Regions from separate parts of the Homo sapiens genome. Here region 2 is linked to region 1. The links are contacts of gene promoters, found by promoter capture Hi-C in blood cells and fetal thymus (Javierre and others, 2016). All regions are on one chromosome and are shown on one strand. The core of a region is centred on a gene start or on the middle of the fragment in contact, and the rest is flanking DNA. Distances in the headings are between cores, read along the strand shown. Region 1 holds the start of CFAP65-AS1 (CFAP65 antisense RNA 1). Region 2 overlaps NHEJ1 (non-homologous end joining factor 1).

What was found. Contacts are between HindIII fragments. The CHiCAGO score rates a contact against its expected background, and 5 or more counts as called.
Region 2: a contact is called between a fragment that was not itself captured here and the fragment with the promoter of CFAP65-AS1 in region 1, in 3 of 17 cell types (endothelial precursors, M1 macrophages and M0 macrophages). The highest score is 6.9, in endothelial precursors.

What each region holds. Positions count from the first base shown.
Region 1 is chr2:219,000,257-219,003,852 of GRCh38, forward strand. CFAP65-AS1 (CFAP65 antisense RNA 1) reads left to right here and starts at 1,959. Exons shown (of 3, transcript NR_046086.1): 1 at 1,959-2,044. CFAP65 (cilia and flagella associated protein 65) reads right to left here. Exons shown (of 35, transcript NM_194302.4): 34 at 2,879-3,016; 35 at 2,590-2,765. The coding sequence ends at 2,681. It overlaps MIR375 (microRNA 375), which reads right to left and starts at 1,452; the gene lies at 1,389-1,452. RefSeq lists enhancers at 1-288, 1,731-2,025. The HindIII fragment of the contact is 13,795 bases long and covers 1-3,596 here.
Region 2 is chr2:219,106,347-219,110,020 of GRCh38, forward strand. All of the region lies in intron 5 of NHEJ1 (non-homologous end joining factor 1), which reads right to left. Among named protein-coding and RNA genes, the nearest start is that of IHH, 47 kb to the left of the region's middle. The HindIII fragment of the contact is 1,789 bases long and covers 734-2,522 here.

The DNA of each region.
Region 1 (3,596 bases), core at 709-3,208:
ATTCTCAGTCACCAGGAAAGATCCCCGCCCACTGGGTGGCTGCCTCCTTCTCACCACCCTCCCCTCAAGGCTGTGTGTGTGTGTGTGTGTGTGTGTGTGTGTGTGTTTGGGAGGGGGTCATTCCAAGCAGAGATCTCTTTGTTGTGCAAACCCAGGATGTGGAATCCTGGCCCCTGACATGGTTGGGGAGGGAAGGGGAAGCCCTCAAAGACACAGGGAAGGTGCACCAGGACCATGCCAGGCCCCTGACAGGCAAATCTTTCAGTGCCAGGCAGAGTAAAGGGCTGGCCCAGGACAGAGCCTGGTCAGGGGGGCCAGGAGAGGGCTGCACACACCCTAGCCCAGGACCCAAGGACCTTCCCCTGCCCCTGGGGCTGCTCCACGAAGAGCCCTGCTGTAGTCCACCCTCTCCCTAAACCTGCCTGGGATCTGTCCAACGCCATCTCGCCCCTCCCCCTTCTCTCTCTGTGCCACGGACTCGGGCTCAGCAGATCCTTTGGGGCCTCTGGGTAGTTGGGTGACATAGGGGCACTAGAGCGGGTGGTGGTGGAGGGGACAATCCAGCACCTCTAGGAACATGCAGTTTGGAGGGACTTCTGACCCTGGTTCCCATCTCCCGGGGCTGCCTCTGCCTGAGCTGAGGGCCACCTACCTACCCCACCCCAGCTGATGGAAGCGAGGATGTGGGATTCTGAGGTTTGAGGAAGGTGGTGAACCGCTGTGCCTGGGGGCTTGTCCTTTTCAGTCAGTCTGACTGTCTCAGACGTTTTTAGACTGAAAGAGGGACCAAGGGAGTGTCAGGGAGTGACATCTCAGGATGTCAGCAGCACCACAGAGATCCGAGGAGTGGATTTGAGGCTCCATGGTGGCCCTCAGCTTCCCCCGCCCAGATTTTCCACACCTCAGCCTTGGCTCCAACTCCGTGAGGGCCTGCATCTTCCCCAGCATGACCAGGAGCCCAGGAACCGGGACAGGAGGCTGGGGAGGGCCTAGCCCCTGCGGGAGGCCAGACCAACCGTTCACTGAGCAAATGGGAAAACCAAGAGGCCGGGAAATGACTTGCCCAAGGCCATAGAAGTCGCGGGGACAGAGGCGGACTAGAATCCGGGTTTCCACCTCCAGAAGGGTTTCTGTTCTGGGCCACGGCCCCCTTCGCCACCCGCTGGAGCCGGCTCAGCCCGTATTACGACGCAGAATGGAGCCTGGCAGCCCAGAAGCTGCGGGCAGGGCAAGGCAGGGCGGGTGGGGCCGGATGGGAGCCGGATCTCCCCTGGAGCGGCGCACAGCCTCTCCCACCCGTACGGTTGAGATGGCGGTGGCGGTGGCGGCGGCAGGTGCCTGCGTGGCGATCAGGCCGGCCCCCGGGCTGGTGCTGAGAGGCCGCCCCTGCCTCACGCGAGCCGAACGAACAAAACGCTCAGGTCCGGTTTGTGCGAGGGGCTCGTCGCGGGGCGGGAGCGGAGGGCCCGGGGCCTGGCGGTCGCCCTCGGTGATCTCCTGGTCCTGGTCTTCCGCGAGCTCAGTGCTGCACAGCGCCCCGCTAGCCTCCGCCCTCACCTGAACGCATCTGCGGCTGACACGTCGGCGGCCGCGGCGGCCACCGCAGGTGCGCACCTGGCCCGCCCCTCCTTTCCCAGCCACCCTCCGCCCGGCTTTCCTGGCCCCTCCGCCCGGCCCAGCCTAGCTTGGCTTCGTCCCCAGCCCACGCCTTGGAGCTTGTCCCGGAGCCCGGGCTCCGTGTGCTCTTATACTGCCTGTTCAGTCCCCGCCCCCAGACACACACACTCACACCTGTCCAGGCGCCCGTTTGCTCGGGGCAAATATTGACTCATGGAGGCGGAGCGCTCCCCCCTCCCCCGCCCGGGCTCTGAGACCGGAGCTTCTCCGAGGCCTTGGTGGCGGGGGCGGAGGGGAGGGTGCTGGGGACCCTGGGCGCCTCTGGAACAACACCAGATGTCACTTTTCCACCCACCTGCCTCTGGGAGGGAGGAGCCGAGAAGCAGAGGACAGAAGCTCCCGGGCGGGGGTTAGGAGGAACCGAGAGGTGGGTATCCATCCTCGTCTGAGGACTGATTCACAGTGGGAGTCGCTTAGCAGGGTCTGTGGCCCGAAATCCAGTGGTGACCTCGACCCGCCCCAGCCTAGTTCCTGGCCCTCCGCGGCGTGCCTCAGTTCTTCCTCCCCAGCCTCTTGGGCACTCGGAGCTCGGCAAATGCTAAGGGGCTGGCCCTGGGGGTGCTAAGCCTCCGAGCAGGCGCGGCGCGGAAAGGTGAGGGGTGGCCGCCCTGCCCAGTGGACACCTGCTTCGCTGGCCAGGCCTGGCACTCAGTTACTGTGCACCAAGGTGCGCTGGGGCAAAGGCCAGCCAGGCCCCGTCCGGAGCGCCCTCCACTGGCCAGACCCGGTCCAGCGGCCGGCAGCTAGCGGCCAGGTCTCAGTCCAGCTGCAGTGTGGGCGGAGAGGTGCATCCTCCCGGGCCCTAAGTTCCCGCCGCGCCTCTGCAGTCCGCCCGGGCTGCTCCCTGCCATCCTTCCCTCTCAGAGCTCGCGCGCGCGTTCCCCCTCGTCGGGGAAATAAAGTCAAGGTAGATACAGAAAAAAGACTAGATGCTTTTACTGGCGGTGGAGAGGGGGCCAGGCGTGACCCCTAGCGGCATGTCGGAGAGGCTGGGCGCGGGCATTTACGGAAGGTCGGTAGGAAGTGGCACCACCGGGTGGAGTACCTCTGCTTGCTGCGTCGGCAGCAGCGTGTCCGGGGTCAGACTCCTGGAAGACAAAAAGTCCCAGGTAGGCGTGGGGGCGAGGCTTCGGGCAGAGCCTGGCTGCCCCCGTGGCCCCTCTCGCGCGGTCTGCGCGGCCGCTGGTCCCGGCGCCCTTACCTGGGCACGCAGAACGGCGGCAGGGCGATGACGCGTGGCCGCGAGGTGAGTACCACCTCCCCGCGGCTCGCCTCCACCAGGATGTTCTGGATCATGTTCTCCAGCAGCGCCTCCTGCAGGTTGGCGAAGGCCGGGAGCCTGCGAGGGGGCGGGGGCTAGCATGAGGGCGGCCGCAGTGCCCGCGCGCCTCCTCGCTCGCCTGTCCGTGCGGTACATTGTGCCGCGAGCTCTACGGAGATTCCCATTCGACTCCCCTCATCCACTACACTATGGGGCATTCTTGTTTCAATGTTACGGACGTTCCAAGTGTGGCTAAAAGATTCCAAGTTGCCAAATATGCTGCTGGTTTAAGGGGTGGGATTCAAACCCAGGCGATGTAGTAGGCATCTCAGGGCCAAGTTTAGAGAAAGGTAGGGAAGTGATGAGAGGGCGCAGAAGGGACTGGGTGGGGCCTAGGGAATCCCTACAATGACATAAATCATCTGTAGGGCAGCCCCGGCGGGAAGTCCCACCTGCAAGACAGGTGGTCCTTTTCTGGCTCTAGAAGCCCATTTACAAGACTTTGCAGACTATAACAATTCTCCTGGTAAGTTGGTAAATGTCAACAACTAGTTCTTAGAGAAAAAAGAATAAAGTTCAGTGTTGGTGCCGGGCGGATACTCCCACAGAGGCCTTAAGCTACCAACATGACCTCACTAAGCACTGAATTAGGATGAGA
Region 2 (3,674 bases), core at 378-2,877, 110 kb after region 1:
AAGTTAGACAGATGGCCTAAGTGACGTCTGAGACTAGACATGATAACCTTCTGCTAACACTGGGAGAGTGTAAACACCCAAGAGGGGAGGAATTGTTTAGCCTGGTCCAGTGGGCTCAAAGTAGGAGAAAGGATGAGACAAGGGACGGGAGATCAAAGCCCTGTGACAGAAAGCCAAGCAAAAGAGACACTGCTCTCCTTGGACTCAGAGAAAACAAGGCCATATACATTTTCACAGATATCTACAAGTGTTATATCCTCATCTTCAGGCATAAAGGAGGCCTACAACAGATGGATTATTGAAACCTAATACAAAGAGCCTATGCTTGGAACAGAAAGCCCTTTTACCATTATGCAAAATGTAGCGCCATACTCAATGTTATTAAACAGTGCCCAAAAAACCCACAGATTCAGACTGTGCTCATCTTCAAGAGAAGATGAGAAAAGAAAAAGTACAGACAGTCAGCAAAGCAGTGAACTGGAATCCCACAGTTTGGTAAAATGCATGAAATTTCTAACCTGTGTTCTCATTTGCTGTTTTCCATTTTACTCTAACAAAAACACCTCTCAAACTGGCATTTGCTGAAAAAATATTCATTTTTTCCTATTTCCCATTCTACTCCAAGTCGGCCTACCTGCCTTCTAGTACACTTGAGTGGGCTTCAATGGTGCCCACAACATTGATAATGAGTGCTGAGAGAGCGATATAGAAGATATGGTGTCCTGCTTCAACAAGCTTCTAATCTACTTGAAGAGAAAAAAGGTAAGTATGTGAAAACAGCAAGAAAATAACTGCAAAGAAACATATGATATATGCAAGAGAAAGGAGGATAAATGAGCTATATAACTGCTAATGATCTGTCAAATCAGGGGAAGATAACTGAACTGATCATTCAGGGAGGGCTTCCCAGCAGAAGTGAAATTTTCTTCCTGAAGAGGAAAAATAGAAATCGATTGATTGAAACCAATTTATGGTTTACAAAAGCTAGAAGGAACCTCAGGGTGTATCTGATCAAAATTGCTCGTCTGACAGATGAACCCCAGGGAGCATAATAATATGCCCAGGTGACAAATCAAAAAAGTGGAAGAACTGGAATTCAAATCAAAGTATTCTGATTTCAAAACCCAGGGCAGATGACAGGAACAAATGCAGAGAAGCAAGAAACAGCAATGTCTATCAGGAAGAAGGTAAGCAGACTGGCATCGTGGGGACAGAGGAACTGTTTCACAGAGTAAGGAGAAATAAGAAGCCCCAGGCTGCTCCCAAATAATCTTAGTTGCTCCATATGGACCCCACTTCTCTCTCTGTCTTCAGGAACATCCACCATACCTTAAATTAGTGGCATGTGCCCTGCAGGTATTTCCCATACCACATGCCCTGCTCTGGGGCCTAATCTCCCTCTAAGGGCCACAATTCTCACTCCCAGAGTCCATACTGGTTCTAAGGGCTCTAGAAGCTCCAAGATATACATATGGCAAAACTAACCAAGAAGTTACTCCACATACGAACTTCTTGTTCTGCTTACAGCCCCACCCTCCTCCCTTGCCCCACCAACACTAGGAAACCAGATGTACAAATGGTTAACAGAGAAAAAAAAAAAATCCCACCCAGACCACTTGAAACGCGGCTAGTCTGGCTGGGCTTCGAGTCCGCTCAGCGACTGCGCCATGACTGCTATTTATAGCTTCTGGGTGCCCAGCCCAGCTTCCAGGTCACTAATTGTGGCCCAGCCCCGAGCCAACCCCCACACCTCCTCCCCTGCCCTGTAACACAGGGAACAAGAAGAAAATCTAGCTTTGTCCAGCCCAGGAAGAACAGCCAGGAGTGAGATCTGAATCCAAGACCCTGTATTATATGCCTTGTGAACAGTATCAAAACTGTCAGAAGGCTCTGCCCTCCTTCCACACATCTTGAAGAGCTGAGTGTCCGTCCTTCCACAGCAGCCTCCTTTCCTGAATTCTCTAAGTTCATCCAGAGTTGAATCCTGAGTTCAGTCTAATCCATCCAAATGCTAGAGAGTGAAAGATAGGTTTTGGCTATCAAGGACACCAGCCAACAGTTAAGTAAAGAGCCTATGTCTTTGAGCAAGCATCTAAGCACCCTTGGATTCATGTGTTTGCCTTTTCCTAGGGTCTATTTGTTAGATTATCTGTCCATTTATTTGTGTTACTACTCTAGTCATCCACAAAAAAGTACCCAGGCAGGAGGCACGCTCAGAACTAAACTTCTAAAAATTCTTTTCTAGCACTTACCAAATACATTTTAAGTTCCACATATTCTTAGTTTCAGACAGAGGACCTGAATAAGATAGTTTTATGAGAGTGCTATAAATAATCCCTTCTGATTCCAAGATGCTATTATTTGAGTATTATTCTATAATACTGTTTTCCCCCTAGAGATACAGATTACTGAGATGGGCAATGACCCTTTTTTGGCATATGAGGCTTTGTGAAGTTATCCTGGGTGGAAAAAAAAAAAGGTTTTTCTAAGGTATAAGAGTTAATGGCAAAAAGACTCAGTGAAGCTTACTCTGTTAGTTCTATACCTGTGCTACAGTGGGGAAACCACCATGGGCCACATTCCCCTGTGTATTCTACATCTGAACCCTTGTTCCCATCCCAATTAAACTTAACCACTGTCAATGACATCTATATTCAGAACAAAGGATTGGGACTAGAGATGAAAGAAGAGTTAAGAGACTTAGAATAAGAGTGAGATATCTCTTTCTTTTTCCAGTGCCCCAGCACCTAAACTATGGTTACCATTCTCAGACAGAACAACAAGCCCCCAACCCTCTACATCCTTGACTGATGCTGCCTAAGACTACACATCTCAATGCCAGTCTTTTCCTTCTCATTTTGGGGTTCATTTGGGCAACTGGATAATATGCCAGGGATTCTGGTTATTGGAGCCAGAACCAGAATGCTGCTGTGCTATCTCATCATCACTCACAAATACCAATTCCCAGCCCCAAATGGTCCCAAATCTTTCCTCCCAAGACCACAAAGGATAAAAAAAAAGTTTCCAAATTAAAAAACTAAAACTGGCAACAAAGGTGCCCCATGGCAGTAACCTTTAAAACTGGCCATTAAAGTTTATAAGTCAGACGGGCACCAACGTGAAGGATCAAGAAGAGAAAAACAGCCCCCTCCCTTGGGGACCCAGAGCCACAGCCTTCCCCCTAAAGCCACAGAGCTGATGTCACAAGAAGCACTTGCTGCATCAAGGGCTCTCTGTGTCCCAACTACAACCATTCACAATGCAGGCAGACTCTGCGTGCTGGAGGCGGGCTGGTGTCTGGCAGAGAATAAAGGAAAGGGGAGGGGCAAGGAGGCGTGGGTTGGGAGTATATATGAGGTAGGCAAAGGTGAGAAAGGAGAGAAAAACATCAAATCTCCTCCTAGCCCTCAGGACTGCCTGCAATTCACAGGCCAGGAGGAAACAGGCCCTGTCAGACTGCCTAAGATAGTGGTTCTCTTTTTCCACCTAACACATAAAAGGCATACCACAGATTTTCATCAGTAACGACAGTATATTATGCAATAATCCTTAACTATCTTGGGGTGGATAGTTTTTTGATATGTGCATATCAAAAATTTTTTGGTAAGGGTATGAATAGTTTGAAAAGGCTTCCAAATAATTCTAACCATCTCCCCGATTGGGTATGTACCCCC